Regions from separate parts of the Homo sapiens genome. Here all the other regions are linked to region 1. The links are contacts of gene promoters, found by promoter capture Hi-C in human tissues and cell types (Jung and others, 2019). All regions are on one chromosome and are shown on one strand. The core of a region is centred on a gene start or on the middle of the fragment in contact, and the rest is flanking DNA. Distances in the headings are between cores, read along the strand shown.

Evidence for each region. The method cuts DNA at HindIII sites, captures the fragments that hold promoters and counts their contacts. A contact is called where the count stands out against the background at its distance.
Region 2: a fragment that was not itself captured here is called in contact with the fragment with the promoter of RBMXL2 in region 1 in 1 of the 25 tissues and cell types used here (H1 embryonic stem cells).
Region 3: a contact is called between a fragment that was not itself captured here and the fragment with the promoter of RBMXL2 in region 1, in 1 of the 25 tissues and cell types used here (H1 embryonic stem cells).
Region 4: a contact is called between a fragment that was not itself captured here and the fragment with the promoter of RBMXL2 in region 1, in 1 of the 25 tissues and cell types used here (H1 embryonic stem cells).

What each region holds. Positions count from the first base shown.
Region 1 is chr11:7,087,396-7,090,462 of GRCh38, forward strand. RBMXL2 (RBMX like 2) reads left to right here and starts at 1,603. Exons shown (of 1, transcript NM_014469.5): 1 at 1,603-3,067. The coding sequence starts at 1,726. The coding sequence ends at 2,904. It also overlaps a transcript of NLRP14 not described here. The HindIII fragment of the contact is 18,438 bases long and covers 1-3,067 here.
Region 2 is chr11:7,556,356-7,559,422 of GRCh38, forward strand. All of the region lies in intron 2 of PPFIBP2 (PPFIB scaffold protein 2), which reads left to right. Among named protein-coding and RNA genes, the nearest start is that of PPFIBP2, 44 kb to the left of the region's middle. The HindIII fragment of the contact is 3,703 bases long and covers 1-3,067 here.
Region 3 is chr11:7,526,103-7,529,169 of GRCh38, forward strand. All of the region lies in intron 1 of PPFIBP2 (PPFIB scaffold protein 2), which reads left to right. All of the region lies in intron 1 of LOC124902806 (leucine-rich repeat extensin-like protein 5), which reads right to left. Among named protein-coding and RNA genes, the nearest start is that of PPFIBP2, 14 kb to the left of the region's middle. RefSeq lists an enhancer at 2,789-2,838. The HindIII fragment of the contact is 3,969 bases long and covers 1-3,067 here.
Region 4 is chr11:7,503,604-7,506,670 of GRCh38, forward strand. The region is part of intron 2 of OLFML1 (olfactomedin like 1); the gene reads left to right. Among named protein-coding and RNA genes, the nearest start is that of PPFIBP2, 8.9 kb to the right of the region's middle. The HindIII fragment of the contact is 4,572 bases long and covers 1-3,067 here.

The sequences.
Region 1 (3,067 bases), core at 353-2,852:
CTTGGAGCCCTGCAAATAAATGCCCTCCTTTTTCCTGCTGCAAACCTCAGTGTGGCTATCTGGTCTTATTGTGCCAGGAGAGCATATCTCAGTTAGGTTTGATTAGTAAGTGGCACAAGTGAACCCTCTGGAGTGATGGAAATGTTATAGATTTTAATGTGGGTCATGGTTACATGGATATACACACGTAAAATTAAGCAGTAAACTTGATTTTATAAGTAAATTTATAAACTTAGCATTTTTAAGTTAGCATTCAATAAAAACATTAAGGGCAGTCATTCGAAAAAGTAGAAATAGAAGGCATAACTTCTTCCATAGTGGAGGAAAAAGAAACAAAGACAAATCACTTACTACAAGAAAAGGCAAGAAAGATGGAAAAAAGGAAGAAGGAAAGGTTTGGCTGATAGCAAAGATTTAGGAAGAAATTGCAAAAGTACCGAAAGTTATAAGCATCACACAAAATGGACTAAGGTAAAAAGGTTTTTACGAATAAGGAGGATCATTACATAAAAAAGGTATTCACCAGAAATACGTAGCAATTCTCAATTTTTATATATCTCACAATATAACCTTAAATTACATGAAGCAAAAACCAGACATAAAGACAAAGAGAAATTTACAAATCCACAATTATGGTAAATTTTAAGACAGTTCTAGTGTTTGGCAATTCTATCAAATAAAAAACAAGTTAGAAAAGGGAAGATTTAAATATCAGAAAATAAGAAAGAACTTTGTCCAACATTTAGAGAATACACTTTCTGCTCAGTATATATGGAACATTAATTACACCATATTAGGTCACAAAGCAAGTCTCAACGAAAAACAATGGATATCGTACAGAGCATATTAAAAAATAACCAACAGGCACATATGTTTGAAAATTTACAAACATACTTCTTTAATACATGGTCCAAAAAGGAAATAACAAAGATGAGAAAATCTTAGGAACTGAACAACAATGAAAACAACATATATTACAGCTCAAGGCATGATATTAACCAGTGCATAGAGAATAAGTTTTAACCTTAAATATAACAATTAGAAGAAACATTTTTTAAACTCTTAATGTGCTAAGTGTCTTATTTAAAAAATTAGAACAAAATAATATAAACAATAAATCCAATAAATGTAGAAAGAATAAAGACAATAGCACCAAATAAAATCAAAACAGAGGATAGACGAGGCTAAAAGCTGATTAGTTTAAAAAGATCAGTAAGGTAAAATTTAAACTTGTTAACTGTTATTACTCTATTTTTCAATAATTGAAAAATGATTTTTAACTTAATAATTTTAGTAATTTAAAAAATTCATACTATTTTTTTCTGTTTGAAAATGGTTTGGGTAGCTTAGGTTTGGGATCATTACAATTGTTCTCATTAAAACTAATAGAAAAAAATTTTTTTCCACCTAACGGCTTTTCCCTGAGCTTTCAGGAGGCCATTGAAGCCGTTAAGACCGGGTCAGGTGAACAGGAAGTTAAAGACTGAAAAGGAGACACAAAACTGCCGACTTTCCCGACGGCGAATTGGCCCTCTGGAAACAGCCGACCAATCACAGGCAGCAGGGGCGCGCCCTGCAGCGGGGCTCCGGCTGCGGTTCCGTGGACTCGGCGACTAGGCGCCGCCTGACCAGTAGGAGCCGCCCTCGACGAGCGAGCTCGAAGGCTGCGACTGGCGCCGCCTCACCGCCTCCCACCGCCACTGACCGACCGTTCGACCGGCAAACATGGTTGAAGCGGATCGCCCGGGGAAGCTGTTCATTGGGGGCCTCAACCTCGAAACCGACGAGAAAGCCCTCGAAGCCGAGTTTGGCAAGTATGGCCGCATCGTCGAGGTGCTCCTGATGAAAGACCGAGAAACCAACAAGTCGAGGGGCTTCGCGTTCGTCACCTTTGAAAGCCCCGCAGACGCCAAGGCCGCCGCCAGAGACATGAACGGCAAGTCCCTGGATGGTAAGGCCATCAAGGTGGCCCAGGCCACCAAACCGGCGTTCGAGAGCAGCCGGCGGGGCCCGCCGCCTCCCCGCAGCCGCGGTCGCCCGAGGTTCCTGCGCGGAACCCGCGGGGGTGGCGGCGGCCCGCGGCGTTCCCCATCCCGGGGCGGGCCCGATGATGACGGCGGCTACACGGCGGATTTCGACCTGCGGCCCTCCAGGGCCCCGATGCCCATGAAGCGTGGGCCGCCGCCGCGCAGGGTCGGCCCACCCCCCAAGAGGGCCGCGCCGTCGGGCCCGGCTCGCAGCAGCGGCGGTGGAATGCGCGGGAGGGCCCTGGCCGTGCGGGGGCGAGACGGCTACTCAGGCCCACCGCGCCGGGAGCCGCTGCCCCCGCGCCGCGACCCCTACCTGGGCCCGCGGGATGAGGGCTACTCGTCCAGAGACGGCTACTCGAGCCGAGACTACCGCGAACCCCGGGGTTTTGCCCCCTCGCCCGGAGAGTACACCCACCGCGATTACGGCCACTCCAGTGTCCGGGACGACTGTCCCTTGAGAGGCTACAGCGACCGAGACGGCTACGGAGGTCGCGACCGTGACTACGGGGATCATCTGAGCAGAGGCTCCCATCGAGAGCCCTTTGAGAGCTACGGAGAGCTGCGCGGCGCCGCCCCAGGACGGGGGACACCGCCATCTTACGGAGGAGGAGGCCGCTACGAGGAGTACCGGGGCTACTCACCCGATGCCTACAGCGGCGGCCGCGACAGTTACAGCAGCAGTTATGGCCGGAGCGACCGCTACTCGAGGGGCCGACACCGGGTGGGCAGACCAGATCGTGGGCTCTCTCTGTCCATGGAAAGGGGCTGCCCTCCCCAGCGTGATTCTTACAGCCGGTCAGGCTGCAGGGTGCCCAGGGGCGGAGGCCGTCTAGGAGGCCGCTTGGAGAGAGGAGGAGGCCGGAGCAGATACTAAGCAGGAACAGACTTGGGACCAAAAATCCCTTTTCAACGAAACTAACAAAAAGAAGAACCTGTTGTATGGTAACTACCCAAGGACTAGTACAAGGAAGAGTTGTTTTTACCTTTTAAGAATTTCCTGTTAAGATCGTCTCCATTTTTATGCTTTTGGGAGAAAA
Region 2 (3,067 bases), core at 324-2,823, 470 kb after region 1:
GAGGCAGGAGAATGGCATGAACCCAGGAGGTGGAGCTTGCAATGATCGTGCCACTGCACTCCAGCCTGGGTGACAGAGCCAGACTCTGTCTCAAAAAATAAAATAAATAATACTTGACTCTTAGAATGCTTTAATTCTCATCACTGCCCCATCTTCCACATTATTTTCGTTCAGTATTCTAGTATCTTTGTATTCTCCAAATTATTGTTTTTTCAGTTGATAGCATTTTGTTTAACAGTTTTAACAACCTCTCCAGTCATAGTTGATTCTTTCATCCTGCTTTTTTTGCATGATAGTTTTCTTCCTTAAAATTTGATAGTCTGTCAGTAATAGATTGTATTAGTCGTCATTTGAAAAATGTCCTTAAATGTTCATAATCTTGAATGATAGTTTATCTTGTACAGGCTTGTAGGTTGGTCACTATCCATAGGTATTATTTTGTGGTCACAGGGATTTATTGCTAATGAGAAGTCTGGCAATCTGTATCTGTCTTCTGTCTCTGGTTGTTTTTAAACTTCTTATTTATCTTTGGTGTTCTTCAGTTTCACTGTGTTGTTTCTTGGGTGGATTTGTTTTGATGTATCATTCTTGGGACTCAGTGAGTGTCTTTAAGCTGAGAGGACTCAAGTTTTCCATTCTGAAAAATTCATAGCCATTTTCTTTGTTGTCTCTGCTTCATCCTCTGTATTCTTCTGGAATTCCTGAAGAATTGTGTTGGACCTTGTCCTCCTTTTTTAATTCCATGCTTCCTAACTCCTCTTTTATATTTTTCACTTGTGTCTCTGTTTGCAGCATTCTTCAAATCTATCTTCCTCTCCAATAATTCTCTCATCTGCTATTTAACCTGTTCACTTAATTAATTTGCTTGGCTGCATTCTTTATTTTGGTTTGTATTTTTTTTTTCAGATTTTCCTATTTTTTAAAATCATGCTTTCCTTTTCTTTAAGGTTTTTATTTCTTCCTTTTCTCCTTTAATTATGTAAAACATATGACATATGCCCAAATATTCCCAAATAGACAAAATATTTACTCATATTAGTGTATTGATTTAGTTACGTGTTTAAGCACTAAGTAAAAGGCTTTCAATAATTCAAAATAATATGTTAATTTATGAACTTCTTGTCTCATTGGCACTTTTTTTTTTTTTTTTTTTTGAGACAGAGTCTTGCTCTGTTGCCCAGGCTGGAGTACAGTGGCATAATCTTGGCTCACTGAAACCTCCATCTCCTGGGTTCAAGCAATTCTCAGCCTCCTGAGTAATTGGGATTACAGGTGCCCACCACCATTCCCATCACTGGCACATCTGATGAAATAATTTTATTCAAGCTTTTTATATTTATCTTTGTTTCTATCATTTTGAGCGCTCTTTTTGAATAATCCTAGCATTCTAGAGCAGTTGTAGAGCATTTGGGGATGCAGATTCATATTTGTAGGTCTGGGATGGGATCCGAGACTGTATTTCTAATGAACTCTCAGGTTTTGCTATTGCTACTCCTGTGGACCCCTCTTTTAAGTGGCAAGGTTTTAGAACATGCCATCCTTACTTGGAATTTGTTTTAAATACAACACTTTAAAAATTCACATATGATGCTGTCATCAGCTATTTCATCTCATGCCAAAGAACTCCATTTACGTGGTAAAAGGTTAGACTTTAAAAGTTTATCTTGTCTATATGTCTTAATTGTACAAAATATATATTTTGCATGAATGAAGATAGGCTAAGTTATATTGCAGTGAGAAACTACTCAAATGTCAGTAGTTTGAAACACAAAGGTTTATTTCTTGTACACATTGCAAGTTCCCTGAGATCTGCCAAGAGCTCTGGTCCTTGTCATCTTCACTTGAACACAGACTGATTGAGTCTCCACTATTGCCAGAAGTCAGGGCAGGTGGAAGAGATATGAGGAATTGTGTACTGGCTCTTAGACTTTCTCCCACAGTGATACACATGGTTTCTGTTTATTGGCCAAAGGAAGTTATGTGACCATGAGTGACTTCAAGGGACAGAACTGTGAGCCTACTATGAATGCAAGTAGAGGAGAACAAAATATCTGAACAACCCCAGTCACTACCACAGACATCCCTATGTGCTTTCGAAAGCGATCATTAAAAGGCTTTCAGCTGGCTGCGGTGGCTCACGCCTATATCCCAGCACTTTGGGAGGCTGAGGCAGGCAGATCACGAGGTCAGGAGTTCGAGACCAGCCTGGGCAATATGGCAAAACCCCGTCTCTACTAAAAAAATACAAAAATTAGCCAGGCGTGGTGGCGCGTGCCTGTACTCCCACCTACTCGGGAGGCTGAGGCAGGAGAATTGCTGGAACCTGGGAGGCGGAGGTTGCAGTGAGCTGAGATCACGCCACTGCACTCCAGCCTGGGTAACAGAGCAACTCTGTCTCAAAAAAAAAAAAAGAAAGAAAAAAAGGCTTTCAATGAAATCCTATAACACTTGCATTGTATGTGGTCTTATCCTCAAAAATAATTATTAAATCTTCATTAAATTTTGGTTTTGCTCCTTAAAATAAAAATTCTCAGGTGACCTCTATAACCATCAAAGCTAGACTTCATTGAGGTGATCTGCTAGTGCCATGGTTTCAGCTTAAGCATCATTTTAGTATCACCTGGGAAACTTTTTATTACCCCAGGTCACACCTCAGACCAATTAAATTAGAATCCCTGGAGGAGGGCCCAGGCATCTGGAGTTTGTAAAACCGCTCAGGTGACTTCAATGTGCATTGAAAGTTGAAAATATTTGTGCTACTCTAAATACTGCTTTGTTGCTCAAAATGAAATAAATAGAATTCCCCAAAGAGAAACTTTAGGCTTGACTGTAAGTTGAATTACCCTTTTCTGAGAAATCTGGGGGGCAAATCTTGCCTTATATTTAGGCATATCCAGCATTAGTGGTTTATGGTGTCTTCTAAATTTTCCTGTTAATTCCAGGTTTTAGGGCACACATTTTTTTTATTTGTTTTCTATTTTGATTTGTTTCCCACTGTGGTTGTAATTTTTTTACAGGAGGTAATTGTGGGAAATGTGTGTGGAGTGTGGAAATGAGCCTCCTGGGA
Region 3 (3,067 bases), core at 273-2,772, 440 kb after region 1:
TTGGAGTCTACCTGCAAAGGGTATTGTTCAAGCAGTATTGACTAGAGAGGAGTTTATGAAATAACAGGGAGGAAGGTATACTGAAAGGTTATAGATCTAACTAAAGTGCTGTAAGATTTTGGCAAAGGGAAGGCTTTGTGGATCAACCAACTGGGGTGGGATCCTGGGGAGCTGGGAAGAAAAGGCTCTCTGGGGATCCCTGGTCAGTCAAGTGAGTAAAAGGCATAGAAGCCCAAGTGAGTGAAGTGGGATCGAGAAATAATAAGGAAACCAGCTTAGCTAGACTCTTCCCATTATTAAAAGTCAAAGAAAGAAGTTGGGACTCTAAGGGAAAAGGAACTTGAATGCCAAACTAAGAAGCTGGACTTTACCCTGTCGGTAGTGGGGAATAATTGGTGGCTTCTGAGCAGAAATGACTTGCAGCAGATGTAGGCTGGAGTGAGGGTGGGAGGCTGGGGAAAGAGCAGCCTTAAAGCTGTGCAGAAGCGGCCGGGTGCGGTGGCTCACGCCTGTAATCCCAGCACTTTGGGAGGCCGAGGGTGGGCAGATCACGAGGTCAGGAGATTGAGACCATCCTGGCTAACACGGTGAAACCCCATCTCTACTAAAATACAAAAAATTAGCCCGGCGTGACTATGCGGAAGCTTCTCTATCCCAAGTCGCAGGCTGAACATCCCACTTAGTGACAAGGGCTGGGAGAGGGGAAAGGCTCTGAGCAAATGTCTTTGTGGGCTGAAAATGAGACTATGATCCCAAGAAGTGACTGGACTGTGTATATTCTTTGCTGATGCCTACCTTGGCCCAACCATCTGAAAGCTGTTTTAGACTCACTTGCCACCCCTTGAAGATTTTGAGAACACACCATCCTGAGACCTGGAGAACCAGGGTATGTGGTGTGAGACAGCTGGGTTCACAGCATCCTAGAGGGCATAGCAGGTATAGAAGGGAGTGATCCAGGAGGACACTGGTCACAAGAATGTCCTCCTGGATCACTCCCTTCTATACCTACCATACCCTAGGAAGTCTGACTGTCTGCACCTTGGGCCATAGAGTGAGCAAGGTTCCATCCCTGGGAGGGGAGGCAAGGAAGGGATGTGGGTACCAGGGCCTCATTCAAGTAGGCTGAGGTTTTGGGTGGGGTGTGGTGTATGGGAGGAGAGAGTTGCTGTGGTTAGGCAACGTGGATGTCTGAGCAGTGTGATATCTTGGTCTGGGTGGCAGGGAAGGAGTCTGGCAAGAATGGTAGGAAGAGTGGCCATGGAACCCCAAGGTCAGAACTGGCCCATTGGATCTGGGGAAACCTACCCTTTAGCAGCAGAGGTAGAGCATACTTCTCAGGTACTGTGGAATCAGTAGGATTGTGACAGTATTTATTATTTCAGCCTCTAAATAATTTTTGAACCATTGTCTATGCTGAGAATGGTGATGATGGGACCACAAGATGAACAGACATGTCCCCTGACTGAATGGAACTTAAGAAATGTACCCCCTTACTCAAACAGATAGTAGTAACTGCTGAGAAAATACAGTTAATATTCAGAGAAAGATGTTGGGGGGGCCTGGCTTGCTGAGGAGGTGGCATTTGAGGTGTGTCCTGAAGGAAAGACAGGGACCAGAGTTGCCCGTTTCTATGGGGCTGAAGGGAATTGCTGGCAGAGGGAACAGCAGTGCACAAAGGAAGGCATGAGTAATGCCAATTAAGGGGCACCTGTGGAAAACAACTGGCGGCATGATTTGGCTGGAACTGAAGAGTAAACGAAGTTAAATAGGGCACCAGGGATTGGAAATTACCGTCTATGAAGTACCCATCATGCATCAGGCATTGAGCACAGAGTCTGTGCTCACTTAAATTTCAAAGCAGCCTTTCAGGGCTTTAACTGAGGAGGAAATGGGCTTCAAGAAGATACCTGATCATCTCAAGTTTCCCTAGGTGGTGAGTGGCCAAAATAAAATTGATGTCCAGGCTGCCTGACCCCAAACTCTGTTCTTTCCACTTAATCTTGCCACTATGTTTAGAGTCCAGATTATGCAGTCTTAAATTTACAGTGAAGACCTGTTCTTACCGTATTTAGGCAGGAAGATGGTCAGATGGCACATGGCAAACCACATTAACCTTTGAGAGGCACTTAGTGGACATGGCCAGATAGTCACAAAGCATATCTGAGTTCTAATACATATATATGCATGCATACACATATATATTTAGGAAGTTAATCTCTAACTTCCTAAATGCAGTTTTCACATTACAATAGAAACTGTTACTCCCAGACCACTATAGGCAATTTCTGAATTGCTGGCTGAATTCCAGTATTTTCTCATCCCTTCAATAAAGTATATTAGAATGGGGCAAGATAAGCCTGAATCTTCTCTAATTTATACAAAAAGCTTCTATCATTAGTAACAAGTTACCTACAACCAACCTTACCTGTTTAGGATACCAAGGTGTCAGCCCTAAGAGATGTTTAGCAAGAGTGGTACTCCAAGAGGTTTGGAAGCGTGGGATGAGGGTAAGAGTCAGAGAAATGTGGGCAGTAACCCAGGTGGGGCTGTAGGGGTTGAGAGGAGGGACCGATACAGTTCAGTAAGCATTTGCTGAGAGCCTGCCCATGCAGGGGTGTAGAGTGGGTGCTGGGATACCTGCATGAAAGGACAACATTGTTTTCACAGATCACATGTTCAAGCTCTGAGCAGGTGGGTGTTGGTGAGGACTGCCTGCTCAAGTTGGGGTTCTTATGCGTATATCTAGTACAGTCAGCCAGTCTTTGTTGCTGAGCAGGTCTGCCCAGGGCCCAGTTCTCCATCCAGTTTGGCCTTCCTCCTGGAGCTCAGAACTCAGATCTAGCCCTGGTGGCCACGCCTTGCTTCTGTCCTCAGGGTGGACCCAGGGTCCTTCAGACTTCCTAATGGGAGGCTTTTCCTCAGCCTGGAGAGAAAAGTTGAGACCACCTGCGAGGCAATAGTAACCACTGAGAAGACAGAGGAAATATTCAGAGGAAGAAGTTGGGGGAGCATCTGGGCTGCAGTGACGCAGGATTTCATGTTAACAGGAGACAATGTGGGAGGAAGC
Region 4 (3,067 bases), core at 274-2,773, 420 kb after region 1:
ATGCCTCTTTCAAGGAGTTTTAATATAAAGTGGAAGAGAGAAATGGGGCCCTGCTAGTAGGTTTTTCCAGGATGGATGATTTACTGAATGATCCAATAGGGAGGAAGAGACTACTGAGGTAGGAAAGGGAAGATAATTTCAGGTGATAAGTTCTTGAGTAGGTGAAAGGGGAAGAGGTCCACTGCAAAAGTAAAGGACACGGGAAGGATGGCAGAGAATGTAGGGTTGGGAGCAGTTTGTTGATGGATTTGGTTGTTGAAAATTCATTATTCATTCAGAAAATATGGAACTACTATGTGCCAGATGCTATTCTAGGAACAAGGCATACAGTAGTGAATGAAACAGATAAGACAAAGCTTATACCCTCATGGAGTTTATATTTTATTGAGGGGAATTAAGCAATAATATGCTAATAACAAATGTATGTCAGACAAAAGATAATAAGCACTATGGAGAAAAATGATCTAGGGTAAAGGAGTCCCTGGAGAGCTGGAGAAGAGGGTTGCCTTTTTTATAGGGTGACGGGAAAAGGTCTAAATGACCAAGGACCATTTGAGAACAGGCATAAAGGCAGCAAGGGAGGAAGTCATGTAGATATTTGTTTCCAAGCAGAGGGAACGAAAAGTGCCAAGTCCCCAAGGCAGGAGTGTGTTTGGTACAATCTGAGAAATAGCAGAAGTCAGTGTGATAGAACAAAACGAACAAGGTGGAGAAGTTGTAGGGGACAAGGAGAGGGAGAACAAAGAGAGAAGCAGTAGGAGAACAGCTTATATGTGGCTTTGGAGGTAAAGGCCTGAGCTTTATCCATTTCACTCTGAGTGAAATGAGAAGCCAATGGAGGGTTTCAAGCAGACACAGGACATGATGTGACTTACATTTTAAAAGCACGCCTTTGGCTGCTGTGGGAATTGGACTATGGGAGGCAAGTATGGAGGCATGAACACCATGTAGGAGACTGCTACAGTAGTCCAGGCAGGAGATGATGTAGTTCTCCTAGGATTGCTTCTACTTTCTCACGGAGTAAGTGGGAAGATCTCCATGCGAGGGTATGACAGAGGCTTGCAGGGAGATGAGAAAGTGTGATAGTCATATGGAAAGCATGATAGGACTGCTGCCCACACAGCTGGCATATAGCAAACAGTTTGCTAACATGCTTGCTTACCTCCGAACCTCTGGAACCCATCTCACTATGCATCTCTCTTCCTCCTGTCCAGTCTTCTTTCCTTCATCCTGTTTCTTGTCCTCTGACTCCAGTTGACCTTCAGTGGGCTTTAAGAACCCAAGCACTGATTAGGAAAATGACAACCTGCTGCTGACACATCCAGCATTTTTTTTTTTTTTTTAGACAGGGTCTGGCTCTCTCACTCAGGCTGGAAAGCAGTGGCACAATCTGAGCTCACTGCAATCTCCACCTCCTGAGTGCATGTGACCCTCCTACCTCAGCCTCCTGAGTAGCTGGGACTACAGGTACACGCCCCCACACCTAGCTAATTATTGTATTTTTTTTTTTTTTAGAGATGGGGTCTCACTCTGTTGCCCAGGCTGGTCTTGAACTCCTGAGATCAAGTGATTTGTCTGCCTTGGCCTTCCACAGTGCTGGGCTTACAGGTGTGAGCCACGGTGCCTGGTCCACATCCAGCTTCTTATACCAAACCCTTTCAAAGGATTTGAAGGAGCTCCTCAGAGTGCTCAGTTGTCCTTTAAAGACTCTATCTAACTATCATTCCACTACCTCACACCCAGAAGTCAATGAGGGAGGCCCAGCATTCCTATGCTCTTATTAAGACTACTCTTTCCTACCCATAATAGAAACCTCAGCAGGATTTGAGGTAGACCTGCAAGTTTCCTCATGCTCCTAGCAAGACCACCACTCCCTGCTTCCATGACACTACTCATCTCACAACGGATGGCCTGACAAGGCAGTCCCAACAAGAAGTCCACAACTGGATTGGAGTGGTGTCTCATGCCTATAATCCTAGCACTTTGGGAGGCCAAGGCAGTAGGACCACTTGAGTCCTAGAGTTTGAGACTAGCCTGGGCAACATAGTAGACCTCATCATTGCAAAAAATAAACAAAATTAGCTGGACCTGGTGGTATGCATCTTTAGTACCAGCTACTCAGGAGGAGAAGGTGGGGGGATTGCTTGAGCTCGGGAAGTTGAGGCTACAGTGAGCCACGATCATGCCACTGCACTCTAGCCTGTCTAATAGAGTAAAAACCTGTCTCACCTGTCTTAAAAAAAATGTCCAAAATTAGAACTGATGACCGACTTATCTTGAAATGACCAGTAGAGCTGATCTTATCCTGATTCATATCAATCTTCAAGGAGGAAGAACTGACCATGCTCCAGAAAGATCAAGTAAAATATGGACACAAAAGGTCTATTTGAGTTTTCAGTTATAAGGTTCCTGGTAACATTATAAAGAATAATTTCTATGGAGTTATGGTGAAGTAAAAGAATGGGAGGTGAAGATGTAGATACAGAGTATAGCCTACTCTGTAGGAGAAGCTGGCTATAAAATGATGGAAAGAGAAATGAAGCAACTAGAAAAAGGTGCCTAGTTGAAGGTGAATTGTTGTTGTTGTTTTAATATAGGCTAGATGCTTATAAGCTAAGAATCTAGTAACAAAGGAGAAATTAAAGATAACAGAAAAGGGATAATTCATCAAGGAAGTCTAGAAGAAGCCAGGAAAGGATGAGATCACAGTACAAGTGAATATATTAGTCTTGGACAGGAGAAATGACACAGTTTCTTCTAAGATGTGTGTGAGGGTAGCGACAGGGGAACAACTAAAGAAAAGTTTATAAGTGAGGAGAGGAAGTGAAAAGAGTTCATGTCTAATGGTATTTGTTTTTTCAAAGGAGTTAATCTGCTGTTGGTGAAGGGACTGGCCAGGGCGGGGTGTGTGGGGCAGTGTGGGGAAGATATAAGATAGCTATTGTGTGAAGATGGTGGGCTAACCATGAAGACCAGTATGGTATTTAGGGCTCAGCTGACATCGGAGACCCCTTATGTGTAGTGGCACCAACATACACCACTGTGAGATTTTCTCCTCCATCAACAC